Regions from separate parts of the Homo sapiens genome. Here all the other regions are linked to region 6. Evidence: promoter capture Hi-C in 16 types of primary human blood cells and fetal thymus (Javierre and others, 2016). All regions are on one chromosome and are shown on one strand. Each heading gives the region's core, a stretch centred on a gene start or on the middle of the fragment in contact. The rest is flanking DNA. Distances are from core to core; before and after follow the strand shown. Region 1 has its middle 14 kb from the start of TRR-TCT4-1. Region 2 has its middle 23 kb from the start of FCER1A. Region 3 overlaps CADM3 (cell adhesion molecule 3). Region 4 has its middle 14 kb from the start of CADM3. Region 5 has its middle 16 kb from the start of ACKR1. Region 6 holds the start of FCRL6 (Fc receptor like 6).

Evidence for each region. The method cuts DNA at HindIII sites, captures the fragments that hold promoters and counts their contacts. A CHiCAGO score of 5 or more calls a contact.
Region 1: a fragment that was not itself captured here is called in contact with the fragment with the promoter of FCRL6 in region 6 in 6 of 17 cell types (endothelial precursors, M2 macrophages, M1 macrophages and 3 more); the score reaches 13.2 in endothelial precursors.
Region 2: a contact is called between a fragment that was not itself captured here and the fragment with the promoter of FCRL6 in region 6, in 1 of 17 cell types (M2 macrophages). The highest score is 5.3, in M2 macrophages.
Region 3: a contact is called between a fragment that was not itself captured here and the fragment with the promoter of FCRL6 in region 6, in 5 of 17 cell types (endothelial precursors, megakaryocytes, M2 macrophages and 2 more). The highest score is 15.9, in endothelial precursors.
Region 4: a fragment that was not itself captured here is called in contact with the fragment with the promoter of FCRL6 in region 6 in 4 of 17 cell types (endothelial precursors, megakaryocytes, M2 macrophages and 1 more); the score reaches 15.2 in endothelial precursors.
Region 5: a contact is called between a fragment that was not itself captured here and the fragment with the promoter of FCRL6 in region 6, in 6 of 17 cell types (megakaryocytes, endothelial precursors, M2 macrophages and 3 more). The highest score is 19.7, in megakaryocytes.

Annotation. Positions count from the first base shown.
Region 1 is chr1:159,126,228-159,129,425 of GRCh38, forward strand. It overlaps a transcript of AIM2 not described here. Among named protein-coding and RNA genes, the nearest start is that of TRR-TCT4-1, 14 kb to the right of the region's middle. The HindIII fragment of the contact is 2,642 bases long and covers 356-2,997 here.
Region 2 is chr1:159,277,726-159,280,710 of GRCh38, forward strand. It overlaps the pseudogene OR10J2P. Among named protein-coding and RNA genes, the nearest start is that of FCER1A, 23 kb to the right of the region's middle. The HindIII fragment of the contact is 1,372 bases long and covers 802-2,173 here.
Region 3 is chr1:159,197,081-159,199,947 of GRCh38, forward strand. It overlaps CADM3 (cell adhesion molecule 3), which reads left to right. Exons shown (of 9, transcript NM_001127173.3): 8 at 2,671-2,796. CADM3-AS1 (CADM3 antisense RNA 1) reads right to left here. Exons shown (of 4, transcript NR_037870.1): 3 at 2,706-2,779; 4 at 1-1,141. Among named protein-coding and RNA genes, the nearest start is that of CADM3-AS1, 3.9 kb to the right of the region's middle. The HindIII fragment of the contact is 1,953 bases long and covers 457-2,409 here.
Region 4 is chr1:159,155,970-159,158,881 of GRCh38, forward strand. No RefSeq gene overlaps it. Among named protein-coding and RNA genes, the nearest start is that of CADM3, 14 kb to the right of the region's middle. The HindIII fragment of the contact is 1,450 bases long and covers 643-2,092 here.
Region 5 is chr1:159,219,905-159,222,834 of GRCh38, forward strand. No RefSeq gene overlaps it. Among named protein-coding and RNA genes, the nearest start is that of ACKR1, 16 kb to the left of the region's middle. The HindIII fragment of the contact is 1,437 bases long and covers 659-2,095 here.
Region 6 is chr1:159,800,826-159,803,610 of GRCh38, forward strand. FCRL6 (Fc receptor like 6) reads left to right here and starts at 1,535. Exons shown (of 10, transcript NM_001004310.3): 1 at 1,535-1,630. The coding sequence starts at 1,600. LOC105371464 (a long non-coding RNA gene) reads right to left here. Exons shown (of 3, transcript XR_922195.2): 1 at 1,713-2,785; 2 at 1,123-1,322. The HindIII fragment of the contact is 5,270 bases long and covers 1-2,785 here.

The DNA.
Region 1 (3,198 bases), core at 427-2,926, 670 kb before region 6:
CACTGGCCTGGGAGTCTCCACCCATTTCCTGCACTGTGGCCACTGCTATAGGTAGTTACCAGGTAATATCTCTTCCTCCAGTTTGCAAAGTCTCTGGTATTATCAGTTATGAAAATGTAATCTAAAATTGATAGAATAGGCCGGGCACGGTGGTTCACGCCTGTAATCCCAGCACTTTGGGAGGCTGAGGGGGGCGGATCACGAGGTCAGGAGATCGAGACCATCCTGGCTAACACGGTGAAACCCTGTCTCTACTAAAAATACAAAAAAAATTAGCTGGGTATGGTGGCGGGTGCCTGTAGTCCCAGCTACTCGAGAGGCTGAGGCAGGAGAATGGCGTGAACCTGGGAGGCGAAGCTTGCAGTGAGCCGAAATGGCACCACTGCACTCCAGCCTGGGTGACAGAGCGAGACTACGTCTCAAAAAAAAAAAAAAAAAAATTGATAGAATTACTTTGGAAAGCAAGAAAGCATACCCTGGTGAAACCGAACAGGAATATAAACTATGACTCAGCAATCCAATTCCCAAGTGTATAATCTGAAATTGCTTGCTCTAGGAGATATAAGATTATTCCAACAGCATTGTTTATAATAGACAAAAAACCTGGAAAAAAACTGCATGTCCATCAAAGGCAGAATGCATTAATACATTGTGTTATACTCACACCATGGAGCATTATCCATTAATGAACATAAACTGTTGTATATTCAAGAACATGGACAAACCTCAAAACACAATGGTAAAGGGGCCAAAAACAACTCATATAAGAATATGTTTCCACTTACATAAAGTTTAAAAAGCAAAACAAAGTAATATATTATTTGGGGATAGCTATATGTGAAATAAAACTATAAACAAGCCAGGGGATGATTGGTTACCTACCCCTAGGGACTGAGAAAGAATGCAATTGATGAGGTTCACCCGAGAGTCTTCAAAGAACTAGTGATGTTCTCATTTTAAGCTGACTGGTAGGATCCTGAGTGTTTATTTTATTATTGTGATTATACTTTCTAAATGGTTCATATACATTCCATATACCCTAGGGTATGTATAATTTATTTCACAATAAAAAATTAATGTAACCCAAATGTGCACGGGGCCCTTAGGGTCGCCTCTGCTCTCACGCCACACTATCTTGAGTCAAGTAACAGATCAGTGTCGGCCCTGACTAGTGTTATGGTCTGAATGTCTGTGTCCCCACAAAATTCCTATGTTGAAATCCCAATCCCAATGTGATGGCATGGGGCCATTGGGAGGCAAAGTCTCTGGTATTATCAGTAATGAAAACACAATCTAAAATGGATAGTATCACTTTGGGAAGCAAGAAAGAATACCTTGGTGAAGCTGATCAGAAATGTAATCTATGACGCAGCAAAACTATTCCCTGTTGGGATCCTTAATGGGATCCCTAATGGGATTTCATAAGTGCTCTTATGAAAGAGGGACAAGGAAGTTTGTTCCTTGTTTCCACCACATGAGGACATAGCCATCTATGGGTCAGCAAGTGGGCCCTCACCACACACTGTATCTGCCTTGACCTTGGACTTCCCAAGGCTGGATTTCTCATAGCCTCCAGAACTGTGAGAAATAAATTTCTGTTGTTTATAAACCACCAGGTCTGTGGCACTTTGTTGTAGCAGCCCTTTCCCTGGAGTATTCATCTCCCTACTTCTCATGTCACCAACTGAAAGTGCCTTCTTTTTCATCTTAACCAAAGTTAGTCTGCCCATCAGTCTCTGCTGCAATCTCTTAATCTGTTCCCTTCATAACAAACTCATTACAAACTGCAACAACTTTGTTTACTTGTTTCTGTTTCTTTTCTTTTTGTCAGTCTCTCCTAGTAGAACACATGCCTCTGGAGAGTCAGGACTTTGTATGTCTTGTTTATTGCAACCTCCCCATCTCTCAGCACAGTGCTTAGTATAAAATAGTTGCCAGATATGGTGATAGGAGTGTGATAATAAAAAATGTATCATAAACCCACAATAAAATAATTGCTTTGTTATAAATTGTCATCTTATGTGCCAAGGCTTACACACACACACACACACACACACACACACCACCCCAAGCCCTGCCATTTTTCTGCATGACTCTGGGGTTACACGAGTGGCCTGTCCAGAATCCCGTCCTCTCTTTCCTTTGAGTTTTCTATCTCCATTAAACTTCTATTTGCCTTTACTGCAACCACTAATCCAGATTTTTTTGTGTGTTTAAAGTAATAAATATTCTGTACTTGGAGAATGGCCTAGTATCGTTATAGCGAGTTCACTCAGTTACTCCCACTCTTTTGACTGCTTTTGACCAAGCCAGTAGTCCTCTATCCGACTTCTTCACCTCTATGGCCTTCCATGGAAAGCCACTTGCCAGTATCCTAACCCCCTCTGCCTTTGTCCTTCCTTCCCTCCCACACCCCCTCTTTCCAGGATCTAGATACTTTAACTCTCAGCTTCCTCAGTGTTTGCACCCGGGCTGCTAATCATTGCTAGGGAAAATCACACAACTATAAATTCATGACAATAAACTTCATCTGGTTCTCCACACTGCTCCACAAACTACATTTCCTAGTCAGCTCACTCTTCATATTTTAATAATGATACTTCAAGATTTCTTCACTCCCCTTATATGTTTGATCCCTCTACATTGGGACACATTCTCAGCAAATAACCCACATTGTTACCTCACAGAAATTATCAAGTCCACTTGTCAGAAACTCATCCAATCTCCTAACTGCAGTGGATTGAACAGTGGACCCCAAAAAGACATGCCCAGGTTTTAACATTTAAAACCTATGAATGTGACCTCATTTGTAAAAAGCATCTTGCAGATGTAATTAATGTAAGGATCTTGAGATGAGATCATTGTAGATTTAGGGCGGGCCTGGAATCCAATGGCAGGCATCCTTACAGAGAAATGCAGAGAGAGATCTGAGACACAGAAAAGATGGCCAGGTAAAGACAGAGGCAGAGTTTGGAAGTATGCAGACCCAAGCTAAGAAGCTTGTTCAGAGGAGTGAAAATCTGCTTACATCTTGACCTTGATTTTGGACTTCTGGGTTCCAAAACTTTGACAGAATAAATCTCTGTAATTTCTGAGGCACCCAGTTTGGGGAAATTTGTTATGGCATCTCTAGAAAATTCATGATGCTAACTAAGCTGACAACTGCATTTGTACCTGCTCTATCCACCTTCTCTTCAG
Region 2 (2,985 bases), core at 238-2,737, 520 kb before region 6:
GAAGGTTTCCTTTCTTGGGCCTTCCACCTTTAGGGATTCCCAGATCCTTTATTTTACAGGCACTTTCAATACATTTTCAAAGGGGACACTTGGACAGTTTTGGTAGGTGACAGATACAGATTGATGTTTTTTAACCAGCCCTTTATGGACCGGAAGGCATATGGCAAGTTCTGTCTTTTTTTCTCCAGGCCGAATAAATCTAAAATCTTAATCCTTTCTCGCAAATCAAAATAACTTTCTCCTTTAGAAGACAATAAACTCCCAGACTCTTGTTTAGAACTGTATTTAAACTTAGAATTTAAACTAGGTACCCAACTATACACAGAAAATAAATTCATCCATGTAGAAATGAAAAGGGTTAAAGGCAAGGCATGGATTGCCTTGTAGCATGGATTTCCACGAAAAGGGTAAAGGCAAGACATGGACTTCCGTGTAGAAATGAAAAGGGTAAAGGCAAGGCATGGATCAGATTATGTTCTACACAGAGAAGAATGAAAATCATGGGCTAATTTCCAGATCTAAGTCAGCAAGCATTAGTTGGAAGGTGATAAAAATAAACTCAATTACAAAAAATCCTCAGATATCAGATATCCCTATATTTGTGAATTCAGTATAGCATGTGTTACTCCCACAGAAAGCATACATAAGCACAGTGAAATTCAGAGGTTGGATGTGACCATGTTGCTTACTAACACTGAACATACTGGTAACAGAGTCTCACCGAGGAAATAGTTCTAATGTGAGCCTCAACAAAATTGGAAAACAATTTCATGGGTCTCCAAGGCAGATGAGAATGTTTAAAGCTTATAATATTTTTTCTGGAATGTCAAGATTTGCTACTCTTGTCAATGCTTAAAGTAGAAAGTGATGATAAGTGGGAAGGTAGTTTTGACTGTTTTCAAGACACCCTGTACACCAACCATGTCCTCTTTAAAGTTTTAGAGCTCAATATCTATATGACATTTAGGTTGACCTGTCAACCTAGTACTTCCAATAGGTGTTATGCCACCCACTTTTCTGCTTTCAACAAATGATAACAATCAGCTACTCCTTGCTTACGATTCCCTACAGCTTTGCCCCTGTGTGAGCAGCAACTGACCACTCCCCTGGTGGTAACCTGTGTGGTTAGTAGAAGGTATAGGAGAATGATGGTAAAAACAAAGTCAAATCATGGAGACTCTTGGTTCCTTAATGTCGCATTACCACCAAATTTTGCAACTCTCTTTGGTTAGAGGATGAATGATAGGATTCAATTTTCTCGAGCTTAAAAAAATACCCAGACTATGACTGACTATATGTCAAACTGATGAAGATTCTAGGCAAAAGGTTTTTTGCCAATAGCACGGTGAAGGGCATTCTTGACCTCCTTGTTCCTCAAAGTGTACACAACAGGATTAAGTAGTGGAGTAAAGACGGTGTATGTCACTGAAATTAGCTGGTCCTGATCCCTGGTGTTCTCTGACTTGGGCTTGAGGTAGGCAATGGAGGCACAGCCATAGTGGATGATAACCACAGTGAGGTGGGAGGCACAAGTTGCAAAAGCCTTTTTCCGGCCCTCAGGAGAGGTGACCTTGAGGATGGTAGAGATGATGAGGATGTAGGAGATGAAGACCAAACCCAGCGGCACCACAATAACCAGGGAACTAACAACAAAATTAATTAGGTCATGTAGAGTGGTATCAACACAGGAAAGTTTCATAACTGGGTGGATATCACAGAAATAATGGGCCACCTGTTTATCACAAAAAGGCAGCCTGAACACAGATGAAATCTGAACTATGGCCACAAGCAGCCCAACACTGCAGGACCCACATACCAGCTGGACACACACTTTCTTGTTCATGATGATCATGTACCTCAAAGGGTTACAGATGGCCACATAGCGATCATACCCCATTGCTGTGAGCAGAAAGCAGTTGTTGATGGCCAAGGTAATAAAAAAAACATCTGGGTGGCACAGCCACCCAAAGAGATAGGTTGGCTTAGACTTAAGAGACTGGAGAGCATCCGTGGTACAATGACTAATGTGTAGACAGTCTCTGAAGTGGAAAGCATACTAACAAAGAAGTACATGGGGGTGTGAAGGTGACGATCAATGCTGATAATTGTCACAATTATGACATTGCCAGCCAGGGTTAAAAGACACAAGGTAAGAAATACCACAAAGAGGGTAAGCTTGTGTTCATGAAAGCTGGAGAAACCCTGGAAAACAAACTCCCTTATCACTGTGTGGTTCTCTCTCTTCGTTGGATAAATAAACAGATTGAAAGTACAGAGACTTAGGTCAATTAGTCAGAAGACATCAGTGCCCAATGCTTTGAGCAGGTGAATCATCTAAGAAGATAATAAGGATTCTGTTCGTGGATGGATGCCAAGTTATTGGGGACGACTGTTCACCTATAGATATAGACAGAAAAACACGATAAGAAAACAATTTCATGCATGACAATGTGTGTGTGTGTGTATATATATATATATGGGACTAAATAGGGATGAAAAAATGGAAGAAAAGACACCGGGGTAAGTTTGAAAAAGATTTCTTGGTGACCTAGCACATAAGTGTTAGAGAAAAACTAGGCTAAAGAAATAGGAAATGCATAGTTAAATTTGAAAGGAATTTTCTTTTATATTACAGTTTCAGATTTTGTTTACCTAAAACAAATTTTTCAACCTCTTCCACTTTGTTTAAACCACAATTTCGATTGTCTCTTTAAAGATCTTTCTTTCTGGGTTGCCAAACAAGACAATGCTCTCTGCTCCAACATAACATAAGTGTTTACTTTCTCCCTGTTGCTCCTGTCTGCTTGTTTCACAAACTCTTTTCATAAGTCATCAAACAGCTTCAAACCTGACTGTCACCCCAGATTTTTTAAAACAAGAGATGTTCCTCTCTTTTTTCAATGCTTGACTTGAGTCTCCTCCTCCTCAGAAAGTCTTCTCAGGACTAAATACAACCTGTCAATCCAATTCCCCGTAGTGTTGGTA
Region 3 (2,867 bases), core at 183-2,682, 600 kb before region 6:
TTCCTCCAGAATCTCCTTTCTCTGTCCATCTTATTCCCTTTTTTAAAATGCTTCCTGATAACATCCCCAAACTGTGACGGGGAGTGGAGTAAAGGAAAACCAGCCCACCACTGGGGTCCCTGAGGGCTTAGGTCCCAGGTCCACTCTAGAATGTGTAATGGCCGCTTAGTGAAAAAACATTAGAAGGGTGGGCTCTCATCTGCCTTTCTTTGGTAGTGGTGGCCTGGGTGACACCATCTTCCATCCCCTGCACTTGTCTGACAACAAGAACAATAATTCTGTGTGCAGAGGCCCCAAAGCCTCTCAAGTGCAGGCGCAGGTGCATTTCCTTCTCTAACTGGCTCTTCTCAGAGTTGCTTCTCCTAAGACTAGGTATTGGGTGCATGCAACTGCTGTCATTTTTTTTTCTGCCCACCTTAAGCACAGTGTACTGGGTCTGGACAGAAAATAGAGAGAAGCTTGTACTATGCCAAGAGACAGAATCTTTTCTCAGATGCCATATCTTCTAGAAGGACCAGGTGATGCTCCTTCTCTGAAGTTCTTCTCAAAGCTGTGACCACAAAACCCAGCTTCAGGAGTAGTGACAGGGTGACACAGAGGCCCCTTTATGGAGAGTTGACGGGCGATTTTTTTGAAGATCCCAATGGCTGTGGGTCCCGCCAGAAAGTCTTATCTTTTCTCAGAATAGGGGAAATGCATTGTCGGGGAAACATCAGAGGCTCCCTTACTTGAGACACTCATTAAAACAGTTGAGGGGATAAGAGCCAGGCCTCCCAGCGATAAGAGGTCTGAGTTCTTGGGATCAGAATGTCTGGATGGGTGATTCCCACTCCAGGGGCAGACCTCAGCATGTGGGAGCTGCCTCAGCACAACAAGGCTATTGTAGGATGCCAAGAGCAAGGACAATGCACTGAGCTCCGGTCTCTGCCCCCAGATCTCTCCAGACCAATCTGATGATGATTGGCAGTGAGAGAAAGTTCTTGTGCCCTTGTGGTTGGTATCTTGCTGATCTCCCCTCTGCTTTGTGCTCAACAGCCAGGCAGAGGGAGTCCTGTTGGACTGCGTCTGTTTCCAGTGCTGACGCCTGGTGGTAGAAGGAGCTACTGCATCTTCTTCCAGGAATATCCTTAAGTGGGCGGGACTGGAACGAAATTAAATGCAGTTCTACCTAGAGACAGGGGCCTGTAATTGATGACCCCAGAGGTCGTTTGGCCATGGAAACCTGTGCTTTTCTAAGGAACTGCCATTTCCATAGCCTGTGGAATAAGTATCCAGGATTGATTTTCCATGTGGACTGTCTCGCATACTCCCTGAGAGAGAGACAGCAGGTAACTCACTCTGCTTCCTCCAAGTTACACCATCACCTCCACCCCAATCATATCATAGATTTCCTGGACTCATCCTCTCCCTTCCTCCCAAGCAGGGCATAAAAAACCAGAACACAAATGTTTTCTTTTCAAATAAGGTGTAGACAGGCAAGGAACTGAAACGCGGGCCCAGCCAAGCCTGAGGAGACATAAGGTAGGAAAGACAAAATATGTAAGGAGTCAATGAGGCATTAAGACTCAAGCTGAGTCCATGGAAAACAGCAGCTCTCCCATGGGTGGGAGAGTTATGTCTATGGCTACATCAGAACCGTGTGCTGGGCCCGTGCGAGTCCTCAGATATTTGGGACTCTGGCTGTGGCTGCTGATGTCTTTGCCACACCCGGCCCAGTCTGTGCTGTTGATCCTCTATACAGGTTGTCAATCCTCTACATAGGTTGCCAATCCTCTACCTAGGTTGCCATGGAGGACAGATGCTATATATTCAGTGGCAGAGACATCCACTAGCATGAGAGAAAGCATCTTTTCCTTTGCACAAACACTTTGAGGGTGGCAAAGTGAAGACGGAGTCCCAGGCCTCCTCCTTGGGAAAGACTAGAGGCTTGGGGTTTCACTGGAACACTAAACTCACCTGCCACAAAGGAACAGTGTTCTTTACATAGATGATAGATTGTGGCCCCTTACATCTATCATCTTTCGTAAGGTGCTGTCAAAGTGCCTAATTCTTGGCTCTATCAGGTTTTACTGTTCCTTCCCTATCTGATCTTAGGGCAGTGGGTGAATAGGCTGAGAAGGCCCTTAGAGCTAGGGGAGCTGGCTCAGAATATCAAGCAGACAGGAGGGTAAGAGGGAATGGGGACAGAGAAGGAACACTCTGATAACCCAGAAATTAAAAAGAAAAAGAGGGAGAAAAGAAAGAAGGAAACAGGGCAGGAGGAGAGAGGAAAGAAGGAAGAGAGGCAGGAAGAAGGAAGGAAAAGAAGAGGCGGAGGGAGGGAGGAAGGAAGGAAGGAAGGAAGGAAGAAATGGAGGGAGGGAGGGAAGGAAGGAGAGGCATTAAAGCAATGATCTTTGACCAAGGCCAAGCTTCAGTGCCAAGAACTCAACTTAGATGACTAGGTATGGGCAGATTTATTTATTCATTAATCCATCAATTTGTTTTAACAAATACTATAATACAGGTGTGGCGTATAAGCACAAGATAAGGCATGATGAATGACACTGCTCCATTTTCCTGATGTTAGTACCTGTTCCCTGCTGTGTAAGACTATTCATGGCCAAGTTGGAATGCTATAAGATAAGGGCTCTCCCCAGATCTGACTGTGTGTGTTGCCCTTTCTTCCAGACCCCAGTCCGGTGCCCTCCTCCTCCAGCACCTACCACGCCATCATCGGTGGGATCGTGGCTTTCATTGTCTTCCTGCTGCTCATCATGCTCATCTTCCTTGGCCACTACTTGATCCGGCACAAAGGTCAGAGGCACAAAGAGAGCATCAGCAGAACTTGGGAGGGGCAGGGAGACCAATCAGAGGCAGGCACGAGG
Region 4 (2,912 bases), core at 118-2,617, 650 kb before region 6:
GTTGGATTCCTAGGTATTTTATTCTCTTTGAAGCAATTGTGAATGGGAGTTCACTCATGTTTTGGCTCTCTGTCTGTTATTGGTGGAGAATAGGAATGCTTATGATTTTTGCACATTGATTTTGTATCCTGAGACTTTGCTGAAGTTGCTTATCAGCTTAAGAGTTTTGGGGCTGAGAAGATGGGGTTTTCTAAGTATACAATCTTGTCATCTGCAAACAGGGACAATTTGACTTCCTCTTTTCCTAATTGAATACCCTTTATTTCCTTCTCCTGCCTGATTGCCCTGGCCAGAACTTCCAATACAATGTTGAATAGGAGTGATGAGAGAGGGCATCCTTGTCTGGTGCCAGTTTTATAAGGGAATGCTTCCAGTTTTTGCCCATTCAGTATGATATTGGCTGTGGGTTTGTCATAAATAGCTCTTATTATTTTGAGATACCTTCCATCAATACCTAGTTTATTGAGAGTTTTTAGCTTGAAGGGGTGTTGAATTTTGTCAAAGGCCTTCTCTGCATCTATTGAGATAATCATGTGGTTTTTGTCGTTGGATCTGTTCATGTGATGGATTACGTTTATTGATTTGTGTATGTTGAACCAGCCTTGCATCCCAGGGATGAAGCTGACTTGATCATGGTGGGTAAGCTTTTTGATGTGCTGCTGGATTTGGATTGCCAGTATTTTATTGAGGATTTTCACATCAATGTTCATCAGGGATATTGGTCTAAAATTCTCTTTTTTTGTTGTGTTTCTGCCAGGCTTTGGTATCAGGATGATGCAGCCAGGACTATTTGATATGTTAATAATCCCTCACTTGTCTACGTGTAACCATCCCTGCTGCCTTTCTGCCAATCAGCTACACCACCAACAGAGCAATTATAATTTTTCTTGAAGGCAAAACCCCTTAAAGTTCTCTCTTGTCTAAAGAAGAGACTAAAAGCCATCTGTGATCTGATTCCCGTCCATTTTTGCAACATCAGTTACTATTATCCCCCAGCCTCCCCTCTCAGCTTACATTTTACAATAAGTACTTAGAGTTCTCAAAATGAAAAAAAAAAGGTTCGTTTTCCATACTAATATGACTTGGTATGCTGCAATGGTTTCTCTTTTTGGAATGCCTTTCTCCTGTCTCCACCCTCACATCTGTCTGGAAGACTGTTCCTCCTCTTTGAAGACTCAGTTTCAATCACCTCATTTTTTATAATATCTTCCCTGACATCCACCACAACCCCAAGCAGACTGGATCACACCCATCTTCACACCATTACTGCACCCTGTGCATATGGCTATCGGAGGACTGAGCACTCTGTAACGTACTCAATTTTGTGAATCTCTGTTCCTACCAGAGAGAGAGAAACTTGAGTTTTTTTACCCTTGATAGTCTGGGCAGTGCCTGGCACATGGTAGTTGTTCAATGTATGTTTACCAAAGAAAAAGAATCAACAATCAAAACCACTAGAACAGGTCTTTGTCCTCCTAGACACATATCATCCTATAATACCACAGTTCTTGATTTTTGTAATGCAAGTATTAGATGGGAACTCTTAAAATGACACTGAGAACTTTAGGCTTCTTCTGCTGGTCTACTTCAAAGTGGTAGAACGTTCAACTTTCTCCAGAGCTCCAGTTTTCATATCCAGTCTATTCAATATTTCCTACTTGATGGGTTGCCCTCAGCTTAAACTCAATGTAATCTAACAAAATTGTTACAAATTGATTATGTCTCCTGCAAATTTAGATGTTAACACTCTAATCCCTCATGTATTTAGATGTGAGTCCTATGAGAGGTGATTTGGTCATGAAGGTGGAACTCTAATAAATGGAATTAGTGTCATTATAAGAAGAGACACAGGGAGACAATCTCTTTTTCCACCATGTGAAGACACATTGAGAAGGTGGCTGTCTGCAAACCACGAAGAGGACACTCAACAGGAATCAAATCCACCAGTACCTTGATCTTGGACTTCCCAGCCTCCAGAACTGTGAGAAACCAAAGTCTGTTGTTTAAGCCACATAGTTTATGGTATTCTGTTTTAGCAGCCTCAAGTAAGACACTAATCCTCCTTCATTCCAAAATACTAAACCCCACAAAAAGCTTCTCCTAATTCCACTATTTCTTTTCATGGTTCAGCATTTTCCAAGTCACTCAAAAGCCAAAACTGAGAGCTGCCTCAGCCTTCTCCCTCTGTCTTGCTTCCCATAACCAACACCAAACGTAGCACCTCTTTTCCATTCCCAATTCCACTGCCCTTGCTCAGGACTCTTTTACTTTGTTCCTGGATTTCTATAATCATCTTTTAACTCATATTCTTAGAATAAGCATTTAATTTAAAAAAAATTAATCATTCAATACATAGGCACACATTATAAAAATATGAAGTATATAATATGGACAATTATAGTCCCCCTTATGACTTAAGTCTCACTCCTGGCCCAGAAAATAATTTTCCAAGTTTAATATGCATCTGAACAATAGAAACACTCAAGTGCCTACTATGTGCCAGGCGCTATTTAAAGCAATTTAAATAGATTAATTTATTTAATTTTCACATCATACCACCCTAGGGGTCATGTAAAATTATCTCTATTTTCCACACAATGAAAAAAAATGCTGAGGCGGTTAAGTATCTTGCCTGAAGTCACACAGCCAGTAAGTAACTATTCATTTACTTAAACACATATTTATATGCATATAAGATTTTACATACACATATGTATATGTTTTATGCTTTTTTCCCATTTTACACAAAAGGGATAGCAGTATGTGTATTTTCTTTGTATTTTCACTGAACAACATACCTTCTGTATCTTTCTATGTTGGTAGATATAAATTTACCTCATTCTTTTTAACTGCAATGTGTTATTACAAAGTATGATATAGCATAATCTATTTATCCAATTCACTATTGATGA
Region 5 (2,930 bases), core at 127-2,626, 580 kb before region 6:
AATTCAGAAATGAAAAACATACAGACCTTGGTTTCTACGAACTCAGAGTCTATAAAAATTTTAATACTTGAAATATTTTATTAATATTAATAATATAATAGAAGGCATATAACACAGTTGTCTTAGTCTCTTCAGACTGCTATAACAAAATGCCATAGGCCGGGTGGCTTATGAACAACAAACATCCATTTCTCACAGTTCTCCATGCTGGAAAGTCCTAGATCAAAGTGCTGGCAGATTCGGCATCCGGTGAGGTCCAGTTTCCTGGTTCTTAGACAGTTGCCTTCTTTCATGTCCTCATGTGGCAGAAGGGACAAGGGGAGTCTCTGGGGTCTCTTTTATAATGGCACTTAAGCCTTCATGACCTAATCTTGCTCCAAAGGCCCCACCTCCTAACCATTATATTGGGGGTTAGGATTTCAACATATGAATTTTGATGGGACACAAACATTCGCTCTTACAGCAGTCGTTAAAAGTAGAGGCACTGAAGTTAGATATCAAAGTTCAATTCAGCTGTGCAACCTGAGACAAGTCACAGAACTTCTCTGAGTCTTAGTTTCCAATGAAAGTAGACCAGCAGTATCTTTTACATTGGGTTATTTGGAGCATTAAATTGACTGACATGTACAGAACTTAACACATTGCTTGGCACTGAGTAAGCTTTCAAGATGTTAGCTAAAATTTAAGAAAGGCATAATTAAGTACCAAAATACATGATTTAAAGTCGTACTATTTTTAAAATTAGAAAGAACCTTAAAAACTCTCTAATCCAATGTTTCCCAAATAATGGTCTGTGGATTGTTGCCAATTTGTGACTTTTTTTTTTTTTTTTTAACCAGTCTGTAGCAAAATGGAATACAGAAAGGCAGTGTGGCAGTAAGCTGTTCTTTCCTTGCTGTTCAGTTTCTTTTTTTTTCAGTGAGCTGACAAAAGGTAGGTGGTAAAATTGTTAATCCCATGTAAGTTCTCCATTTATTATTGTTGTTGTTTTGTTCATGAAATGTAGAAGTCTGAGAACCACTGCTCTAATAGACTAAATTTCCCATCAGTGGAATAACTTTATGTGTCATCCTGTTGGCTCCATTTGAACAGGGTCAGGGTGCTGAAAAGTTATTTATACTTTAGAGCTCAGATAGAGCTAAGAGGACAATCTAACCCCTCTTCTACATGATTGTCTTTCAGATCTTTGAAGACAGCAACAATAAGGGAGCTTGGTTATAGTGAGCAGAGCCTTTGGCTTAAACTCAGTTCCAGTTCTGCTACCATCTTGATTTCCTCCTCTGAACTTTTGTTAAATGGGCTAGGAGTATTTACTGGTGAAGAATGTTGTTGGGATCAAGGAAAATAATGCCTGTGAAAGCACTTTGTAAATAGTGAATTACCATTCAAATGTTATACCTATGGTTTTATTGTTCTTGTTGTTGTTGCTCGAGTTGGAGTTTTGCTCTTGTTGCCCGGGCTAGAGTGCAATGGCACGACTTTGGCTCACTGAAGCCTCCCCTCCTGGGTTGGAGCGATTCTCCTGCCTCAGCCTCCAGAGTAGCTGGGATTACAGGCGTCTGCTGCCACTCCCGGCTCATTTTTTTTTTCTTTGGTATTTTTAGTAGAGACGGGGTTTCACCATGTTGGCCAGGCTGGTCTCGAACTCCTGACCTCAGGTGATCCACCCACTTCAGCCTCCCAAAGTGCTGGGATTACAGGCATGAGCCACCGCACCTGACCTACACCTATAGTGATAAGACAGCCCCATTTCCACCAAGAGATCTCCACACAGCACAGTACCTATTGTTTACCATTGGTTTTTACTTCTCTGGACATGGGTGGAGTAATGATTAGTCAATACTCTCCACAAAACGTGATACCCAGAACTGAGCATAAACTTCAGATCTAGTTGGTAACATGGAGTAAAATGGGACAAAGCGCTGGCCTGCGTGGTCTTTAGGGTCTTGGCTTCCATGATATTTCCCTTTTATACCTTCTGACCTGAGCTCTCTACTTTTATGCTACAATCACAGCACAAATGTGTCTTATTTCCCTTTGGGCCAGTTAATATCTTCAAAATCCTAAAACCACTAATATTTTAGAGCAAACTGGAAGCTTTGCCTTCTTAATTTGGCTTAAAGACTACAATATTTAATCTACCTTTTCCAACTTAAAAACCTCTCTGGAGAACATGGCAAGAATTTAAGAGTTTATTAGGGTTGCTTTTTCTTTGCCATGTTTCCATTTTATCACCTCCATTTTATTCTATCATTTCTTCTTCCTTTTACATGGAATATCCCCTTTGAAAGCTATTTGAAACTATATTTTGCCAAAGCCCTATGCATTCTGCTCTGACTTGCCATACAATGTCCTGAGGAGTATTGCGAAATCGATAGAAGGAGAGCATAGAGGTTAAGAGTGTCAACTCTTGGACCAGCTTATTTAGATTAAAATCCCAACTCTGCTACTTATTGGGTTTTTGGCCTTGGGTCAGTAACTTAACCACTTTGTTTCTTAGATCTTTCATCTATAACAAGAAGATAAATATGACATCGACTTTGTCATGCTCTTCTGAGGAATCAGTTTGTTAATATATGCAAAAGTGCTGAGCACAGTTCCTGGCACATAGTGAATCCTCAGTGTATCGTGAGCATTAGTCTTATTATTGTCCTTACAGGACCATGTGAAGTTTTGGATTTGTTCTGCTATGTTCTCCTCCTTATATCTTTTGTGCAAGCCTTTATTCAATCTGAGCTCATCAAAGAGCTCTTTATGAAGCCCCATGGGTTTTGTTAGCTGCTTTCTCCTTTTTTTTTTTATCAGGATGACTCATGATTATTTTATTTGAATTTCATTTCTTAGAAGGGCCCATCCTGTTAGAGGTTGGGGCTCCATTATTAATTTTGCATCATAGGTCACAAGATCGTAATCTTTTGCTCTGAACTATT
Region 6 (2,785 bases), core at 285-2,784:
AGAACTTCTCACTTAAAGATTTCCAGGAAGAACTTTACTGTCAGAAAATGCTTAGCCAGGCATGGTGGTGCATGCCTGTAATCCCAGCTACATGGGAGGCTGAGGCAGGAAAATCACTTGAACCTGGGAGGCGGAGGTTGCAGTGAGCCAAGATTACACTCCAGCCTGGGCAACAGAGCAAGACTCCTTCTCAATAAAAAAAAGAAAAAAGAAAGAAAAGAAACAAGAAAATGAAAATGCTTCCTAGTATTTTGCCTGACTCTGTGTTTCACCGTGAACTCCCATGTTCTGTCCACAGAGGAGATGAGAATGTGTGACCTCTTTTTCTGTTGAGGGAACATTGAATAATTTCCAGTTTTTATCTATTACAAATGATGCTGCTATGAGCACTCTTGTATATGTTTTTTCAGGCTTATATGTATACATTTCTGTTTGACATTTACCCAGGAGTGAAAATGCTGAGCCATCAGGGATCCCTGTGTTTAGTTTTGGTAGATTCTGCCAAGCCATTTTCTAGTGACTGTACCAATTTATATTCCCACTAGTGGTGTACAAGAGTTCTAGTTTCTTCACATCCTCACCAATACTCAGTAGAGGATTGCATGGGGAGGGTCACGGGCTCCCCCAGACCCAGCTCAGTCTCAGCTGGTATCACTCCCTTATTCTTATGGAAGGTGTAGTGGTATCTTATTATGGTTTAAATTTGCATTTCCACGGTGATTTATGATGTCTAGCTCCTTTTGCTATGTTGATTTGACACGTGGATATCTGCTTCTGTGAAGTACCTATCCAATTATTTTTGCCCATTTTTCTAGTATGTTGTCTGTCCTTTTCTTACTGACTTGCAGAAATTCTTATATTTCTTCTGTGGGCCCTTTGTCAGCTACATGTATTTAAACTATCTCATCACACCACAGCTTGCCTGTTCCTTCTCTTAATGGTGTCTTTTAAGGAATAGTTCTCAAAATCATACTGACAGTCTTAAAAGCCTCAGATGCCGAAGCTCCATCTGTGTTCTACTCCAGACTCATCGATGTCTGATTCCCTCCTGAACTGAGGATCCTGTGAAGCATCCTCAGGGCTCCACTTCTCCATCGCATTGCAGCATCCACACACATTTACCTCTGGAGACAGGAGCTCCTTGGAAGCTGGGAGGTCACTCGGTGGTCAAGGGGTAGATGATCTTAGTTTTACAGTGCTGCGCTGTCTCCCAGGCTGAATGACGCTGAAGCCAAGCAAATTCGGGCAGTCTCTGGACCTTTCTAATGGAGGTGTCCCATAACCATGTTCCATCCTAGTTCCCTGGCATAGGCTTGTTGAAGCTGCAGAAAATGTCAGGGATTTATTAGTGATTTACCGACTCCTTCATACTTAGTGTTCAGGAAAATTTATTCATGTAATACTTCTTCAACCAAAGAGGAAATATCAATTAGAGCTTTGTAAGTTTCTTTTCCACTTCCTATTTTGGCTATCAAGCTATAGCACCACCCAGCTCAGGCCACCCACCCACCTTCGGTCCTGAGGCCTGGTTGCTCTCTGCCGGCTTCGCCCTGACCTGTTTCTGACCTGTGTTCCCTCCGCTGTGCCAGAACAGGCCCCATGCTGCTCTGGACGGCTGTGCTGCTCTTTGGTAAGTCAACGAGCATGGGCATCCCCTCTTGGAGCACTAAGGACCGTAAGTCATCCCTGAGACACCAAGTTCCTCATCTTACCTTTCCCAATTCCAGTGGGTTTGTGGCTGGAGCTCAAGACAGGTGTGTGCACCTGGGCATGCTTGGGAGAGATGGGCACTGGGGTAGGAGAAACTCCTCAGTGTTTCCTACCCCGTAGTCCTGGGTCCTTGGCAGCGCAGCCCTTTGATATGTCAGAGATAAATTAGGGAGGCAGAAAATCACATTACAAAGTCCCCTAACTTCCCAATGACATTTCTACCTTGTGACATCAGGTTAAAATACTAATCAGAGCTGTCTCAAAAGGAAATGGAGGTTGCAGGAGGGAAGGAGGCTGCTGGGGGCAACAGGGAAGGAGTCAGGGAAATGAGGGGAAACAGTCCCAGGCATTTTGCTCAGCAATGGGAGGTGGAATTTTACAGGGTGACATATTTTTATGGAGCCTCAGCATTTTCTTAGAACCAGGTAACAATGGCCAGACCTCTCACCTGGTTGAAAGGCCTGTGCTCTGAGTAACCAAAGCCCTTTTCAAATTGACTGTCTCTCTTCCGCCTACATCTTCTCTCTGTTGGGAGCTGTTTCAGATCCATGGGGCTGGTTTGAAGAATCAACTCCATTGTCTGATCCATGTCTCTCTCTCTCTTCTCTCCATTTCTTCTCATGCAGGCTACTTGTAACTAAGAGAGCTGGTCTAAGGGTAGAGGATTGCACGCAGAGGGTCACTGGGCTCCCCCAGACCCAGCTCAGTCTCAGCCAGTGTCACCCCCCTTATACCTAAAAGAAATAATTTGGCATATATTTTGTTTCACTTTACAGTTTCCAAGTGGACCTACTTTTTGTTTAATTCTTGGTCCCAATAGCTTGCTTGCTATTTGTATTCCTTGAACTAGAAAAGCAAAACTGTTCCTAAATATAACCTCTTCCTGGACAGAGTTTGTGAGAATTTGACCCTGTGAGGAAAATGCCCCTTCCACTCAATGTTCCTTCTCCAGCATAGCATGCTACTCGTGTGTTCTATGAATGGCCATTTGGACAAATGAAAAGGTCTAATGCTCACACTGAGGCGGGGACAGGATAGCCTAATGCCTGGATATACTCCAGGCAGAAGACTCCCA